2 separate regions of the Homo sapiens genome follow, and region 2 is linked to region 1. The links are contacts of gene promoters, found by promoter capture Hi-C in human tissues and cell types (Jung and others, 2019). All regions are on one chromosome and are shown on one strand. The core of a region is centred on a gene start or on the middle of the fragment in contact, and the rest is flanking DNA. Distances in the headings are between cores, read along the strand shown.

The links. Contacts are between HindIII fragments. The study calls those that stand out against the background at their distance.
Region 2: a contact is called between a fragment that was not itself captured here and the fragment with the promoter of RUNX2 in region 1, in 1 of the 25 tissues and cell types used here (dorsolateral prefrontal cortex).

The regions. Positions count from the first base shown.
Region 1 is chr6:45,326,508-45,329,812 of GRCh38, reverse strand. It overlaps RUNX2 (RUNX family transcription factor 2), which reads right to left and starts at 1,483. Exons shown (of 9, transcript NM_001024630.4): 1 at 1,353-1,483; 2 at 1,029-1,152. The coding sequence starts at 1,086. The region is part of intron 2 of SUPT3H (SPT3 homolog, SAGA and STAGA complex component); the gene reads left to right. RefSeq lists an enhancer at 1,714-1,754, a promoter at 1,161-1,801 and a cis regulatory region at 2,759-2,765. The HindIII fragment of the contact is 4,056 bases long and covers 1-3,064 here.
Region 2 is chr6:44,654,514-44,657,818 of GRCh38, reverse strand. No RefSeq gene overlaps it. Among named protein-coding and RNA genes, the nearest start is that of MIR4642, 220 kb to the right of the region's middle. The HindIII fragment of the contact is 4,670 bases long and covers 1-3,305 here.

The DNA.
Region 1 (3,305 bases), core at 234-2,733:
GCTATAATAACACATCAGCTGATGAATGTTAAAGTCATTTACATATCTGTATCAACAGTAACTTGAAATTAAATATTAAGGGACAAGATTATGCCTACTTCTTTTAAAGTCCAGCATGGTTTAATAGTTGTGGCTTTTAAAAATCATACAGGGTATCCTTATGGAGCTTTATTTTTCATGAGACTAAACAGCAGTTATTCATTTTGGTAGGTCCAAGAATGTGATTAAAAGAATCTTAGACGTTTCAGTGTTTCAGTGTGTTTATAACAAGGTCTATGGATAACAGTGTGTAGATGTAAAATTAAAATTACATAGAAAAATGCAGTTGCATGTAAGTTTTAAAATACTTCCATGAACTTTTTAATATCCTGGGCAACTATAAAGATCTTTTAAAAATGGCTGTGATGTGCTTATCATAATTTTATTTCAGCTGAATGTATACTTATATAAAGTTGTTTAGAAACAAACTTATTTAGATAGGATACAGTTTGAATTTATAAGTAGATTTCTTTTAGTTGAGCTGGTTAAAATGTTAACTGTACTACAGGTTTATTTCTGTGTTATACATGGTAGACCATAATGTTGAGATAATTCTGTGGTCTGTTATTTTGTAAAATTGCTTCCTTTTTGAAGTTTGCTCAAATATTGGGAGCTGCCGGAGTCAATAATTTATAATGCTTTGATTAATTTAGGATCTGACTTTTCTTCTGGTGAGGGTTAATGAGAGTATTAAACTGTTTCTTTTACTGTTTTCATATCCTCACCTCTATAACTCTAGAAAACATTTTGATCAATGTGAGATAATTTAATTTTGTATATTTCAAGTCATTACTTTGAAAATTAGATACATTACAGATACCAAATGCAAATATATACAGAAATTTCATTTTTCAATTCTTAATGCAACAAGATAGCATAATTAGGATCTTTAATATGCTATTTGGAAAAGCTAGCAGTTTATCAAAGAATCATACCTTTATGTTTAACAGGTTCATATCTTACAGGATTTTAAAAATGGTAACACTTACCCCAAAAGAAGTTTTGCTGACATGGTGTCACTGTGCTGAAGAGGCTGTTTGATGCCATAGTCCCTCCTTTTTTTTTCAGATAGAACTTGTACCCTCTGTTGTAAATACTGCTTGCAGCCTTAAACTGAAAATACAAACCATACCCAAACCTTGTTTTAGTTTTACAGTATGCCTGGAGTACATAGACTTTATATTTATTTTTTTCTGTCAAGAAATTATGTAGCTGGTAACATGTGAAAAGCAAAGAAACAAAACAAAAAGAGAATGAGCAAATATTTGAAGGACCTACTATTACTGCATAGACTGTGGTTAGAGAGCACTCACTGACTCTGTTGGTCTCGGTGGCTGGTAGTGACCTGCGGAGATTAACCATTTAAAAACCAGAGACTTCTTGCTGTCCTCCTGGAGAAAGTTTGCACCGCACTTGTGGTTCTGTGGTTGTTTGTGAGGCGAATGAAGCATTCACACAATCCAAAAAAGCAAAAGCTTTAAAACTCCTTTTTTTTGCAAGCACTATTACTGGAGAGGCAGAATCATGTGGTTTGTGACCTCACAGTACTCTTAAGTAAAGTGGGACTGCCTACCACTGTGGCTTTTCCCCCTTGCTCTTTCTCTCTCTCTCTTTCTCTCACAAAAGGCTTGTGGTAAGGCCTTTCCTGGCATCCAGAAGGATATAGCTTTTTAATTTTTGTGACTCATGAGGATTTGGATAGAATACAAATGCTGAAGGAGCCCAAACTCCTGTAAGGTTAAGCATTTGTAGAGCAGAGCTCTGCAGTTAAGGGCTTTCCTTTCTACTCCCCGCTCAACCTCTGCCTTTTTGCCTCCTCTTTTTAGTTCATTATTGTGTCTGTGGAAAAATGAACAAAATTGGCTCAAGAGTCTGTGTGAAATTCTGAACAACAGTGATGATATACAATAATTCACATCTTTGGACTGTATCACATTCTGGGGTCTGCTTCATATTTGCTGGGTGGCTGGATTCCTTCTGTTTTCCTTTTTCTTGTCTTCTTAAACTTGTGAATCTGTAACTCATTGTAAAAAAAAAAAAAGTTTACCTTAAGGTCTGGTTGCAAACTGCTTGCTAGGCTTGACTATAATTGGCTGTCATGAAAGTGTTAGTCTGGGCATTCTTTTACAAATTTTAAATCACGTCTGTCTAGTTTATTATCAATCTATTAGATGGCGGCCTTTACAATAAAGATTAAATGTAATGTTTCATGTATACCATTATCTCATGCCTAGTTTGAAGATCTTAAAAAAATGAATGACAGGGATTGTAATATAGTTTATTGGATGAATCTTAGTTTTCTTTATGATTGTAATATTTTTTGTCTTTCATTGAAGTGTATTCAGTTTATATAGTTCTTTAAGTAGTTTAGACATTAATAGAGTTTCTGATAGCAGATCTTCTATAAAGTAAAATGCTTATGTTATAATGTAGATTGTTCAGTATTTGATTCTATGAGCTTAGAATAGAGTGGGTTAACAGAAGCTATGTATTTTTTTGTTTCTAATGGAAGCTTTGAAATAAATTACAAAATGCTGTGTGTAGTAAGGAATAATGCCCACAGACAGAGTATGTTAGTCGTCTCGATTTGCTAATTCTGATTCAGAAGAAAATTGGAAACATCTTTGGGAAACTATCTCCTTTTTTGCCCCTTTGGACAAGTATGTATAGAACTCATTTTCTTATTAGGATGATTATATATCATAGGCAGTGAATTTTATATTTATGAATAGAGCTTCCTGTTTTCATCAGTTGGGAGCGATGGAGTATTTTTCAACCAAAATTATAAAGGCGAACAGACCAATTTTCTAGGCATTTTTTTGCCATTTATCCATGCCACTCTAAATCTGCATGTTAGACTTCTTCCTAGTGTGACAGTAACTAGGAGTGGCATAAAGTAAATGGGGTGGGCGGAGACAGTGAATTACAAAAGATTATTTGGAATGTGCAGGGAGGTAAGGGCTAGGGAGACAGGAGGGTGTTAGAACTAAAATATCCCTGTGTTCTTCCTAGTGCTATTCATTATCTGCTTTTGGTTCATATTAGATCACAATAACTGTACAAATATGTTCATAAGTTTCTTTACAGAAAATTTGATTTTCCCAAAATACACTGGTAGGGTATGGGAATGATTCTAGTCCTTTATTTTTCAAATGTCCAGAACCTTTTCAGAATAAACTTTTAGTGATAAAAAACCAGAAATACATTTTGGTGTTTTATTTTAACTATGGATTTATCATGCCTTATTGTATGTGTAAACAGATTTT
Region 2 (3,305 bases), core at 500-2,999, 670 kb after region 1:
GGTTGAGGGGCTCTGGTCTGAGTCCAGATAACTGGGGAGTTCCAGGATAATGCCCAGGGAGCTGTTACAGGGAAGTAGACTTAGACTTTTAAGCAGCCCACAACACCTCCTAGAGGTCCTTGGGCGACGGAGCCTGGGCTTGTGGAGTGCCAAGCTTTATCCGACTGCCATGTCAACACCACTCCAGAGTCAAAGACTTCCCAGGCCTTCAGCCCCATCCTCATCCCTGCCCTAGGCAAAGTTGGGTCTGGAACGTTTCCCCTCAGCCTTGGGAGGAAACTCACATTCGAAGCAGTGTGTGAGCCCTGGCTGGCGAGCGATGGCCACTCACACTGTTATCCCTTTCTCAGCAATAATGTTTAGGTTCAGGAAAGAGTTCCAAGATATATATAATTCCTCATGCTGAGTAAGGGCTTCAGCCTGACTCCACAGCTGCCCCGGCTACTGCTCTCTCCAGGAATGTTATTACACCAGCACTGGCCCGGTGCTAGAGATGGGGTCTCTCAATGTTCTCATTATGTGCTCCGTATTTTTCAGGTCATGTAATTCAGCTGTAAAAATTTGCCCCTGGCTGCACCTGGCATAGGAGTGGCACAGAGGGGTGAGTTTATTTTTTTAAGGTACTGTTAAAAATAAATTTAATAAGGGAAAGAGAGAGGAAAAGAGAGAGCAAGAGACTAAGACTGTGTTTAATTTGAACTATGAAGGAGAAGATATGAACCGAAGGTCTGAGATCCTGGTGCTTTGGCTGTATGTGTGTCTGTGTGTGTGTGTGTGTGTGTGTGTACGCACGGGAGACTACATGTTTCTCCTGTGTAACTTAAAGCCAGCTTTGTTTATTTAACTGAGATTTTCCAGATCGTTAGTTTGTGATGTGGCTTAGTTTATACTGTGCAATATCCCATTTTAAATACACTCAGGTACATAAGTGAAATGCAACGGAGCTACTTCAATTAGCAAGAGCATGGGCAGCAATTAAGTTTAAATGAACATTTTCATGAGTCTTTTCTTCCCCTTCCTTCTCTTAGCCATGTAATTAATGAGCCTCTGAATGAACCTACTCTCTGTCTATGGGCGTAGAAGATTTTGGCTCTGGAATCCAGGACATATAAATGGAGAGGAACGCAAAGGCCTCCAGGCTGCAAGCTGAGGGGGCAGGTGGCTGCCTTTCCATGTTGCTCTGCGTGGGTAGAAGGAGCCTCTCCCCTTCCAACAGCCTCACCTTAGGAATATAGGATAGGCCATGGGTGACCTTAGTATGTAAACCAAACCCCAGCACTTTTAGAGTTCTGTCCCACTTCTGGCTGAGAGAAGCTGTTTGGGAGATGCCACATTGAATATTGGGCTTTCCAGACTATTTTCAATGACTTATAAGAAAAACTGGGATGTATGAAATTGGCAAGTCCTGGAAAGACTGAGATGGTCCCGGTAATTAGGAGGTGGGGCAGACAAAGGTAGGAGACTGCTACATCAAGTCGTCCCTTTTTCTGCTTGAGCTATGTCACCAGGGTTTTGGGCATGTCTGTGTCACCTGGAATCCAAGTGTGATTGTTTTCATCCAGACATTCTACCAAGTGGAAACCAAGAGTGGAGGCTCAGTCCACAGTAAGAGAAGGCACAGGGCCCTGGACAGAAGGGCCTGGCTTCCAGGGGGATGGGGATCCCCAACGCGGGAGACTCCTTTCCCCTGTGACCAGAAGCTGGGGTCTAAGGACTCCTCCTGCTCAACCACATCCACTGGTCGGGGTCCACCCAGGCCAAGCACAGAGCTGCGGAGGGGCTGAGGTGGCCTCTGCCGGGGAATGGAAAACGGCTCTCTTGGAGGAACTGAAGGAACCCCCACTTCCGTCTTCTGTCCCTGGTGCCTGCATGGCAGGACCCTGGGACCATGAGCTCACAACTCCTCCCCGGGTCACTGTGGTGGACATCAGGATCACCCCTCGGTGCTCAGTGTTTGGATAGGGCACCCTCACGTAGCATCTCCCCCACAGGCCACCCAACCATAGCTAGGACACCTCTCTTTGGCTGGCCATCACCTCCACCCACTCTATTTGACAGTCGGTGGACGCTGTGCCCCCTCAGAAATCAGACCGAGGGGAGCTCAGCGTTCGGCCAGACTCGGGCGCCACCTGGTGTCTGCGGGCGTCCCTGCGGGTAGACTCGAGCCCCAGTTGTTTGCTTCTTTGTTGTTCCTGCTTCTTTTAGACCCAGAAAGGCTCTGTCGCAAGAGGTGGGGTCTGTCTCAATTACAGCGGCTGAGCAGGCACGGGTTGCCTGGGGACATTCCTTGATATTCATGTCACAGGACATGCTGTGCTCTGCACGGGTTTTCACACCTCACCATGAGGTTCTCAGGCCCTCAGTCAGGATTTCAGGGGTTTGTTTTGTTTTTTTAGGTAGGTAGGTAGGTAGATAAGGTAGATAAGAGTTTTGGGGGAAATGGGTTGTTTAGGAGTGAGGCTGGGTTTCTGTCTTATCTCAGCCACTTACCAGCTGTGGGATCATGGGAAAATTACTTTAATCTCTCTGAATTTCAGTTTCTTTATCTGTAAAATAGGAATAACAACACCCACTTCAGAGGGTTATATGAGACTTAAAATAAGTCCTGCCAAGTTCTTGACAACTGAAGGTGTTCAATAAATGTTAGTTCCTTCTTTCCTTAGCAAAGACAGTCATAGATAATAATATAGGTAGTAATTAAAGTTAGTGACACAATGAGAGTAATACTAATTTTTTCTTCCTTCCTCTTCCTTTGTTTTTCTTTCTTCCTTCCTTCCTTCCATCCCTCCCTCCCTTCCTTCCTTCCCTTACTTTCTTTCTTTTTTCTTCTTCTTCTTTTTCTTTCTTTCTTTTTTTTTTTTTTTTTTTTTTTTTTTTTTTTTTTTTTGAGGCAGGATCTTGCTGTGTCACCCAGGCTGGAGTGCAGTGGTGCAGTCTCGGCTCACGACAACCTCTGCCTCCCAGGCTCAAGTGCTTCTCCTGCGTCATCCTCCCACAGGTGCATGCCACCAGGGGTTCACCATGTTGCCCAGGCTGGTCTCGAACTCCTGCGCTCAAGTAATCCTGTCCGCCTCGGCCTCTGAAAGTGCTAGGATTATAGGTGTGAGCCACCGCACCTGGCCAGAGTGATACCAATTTTCTTCGTGTGTGCAGTGACAGGCAGAGCAGCGGCAGGGAGGAGCTCTTCATTCATACTTTCCTCCAGGCCCCTCCAGCGTTTTTCATGGCTGAGAAAGGGAGTCTGGGCTCTGTGTGGGGAGCCTGACTATAACTTCATTGAAGAGGCTAGTGGCACATTTCCATTC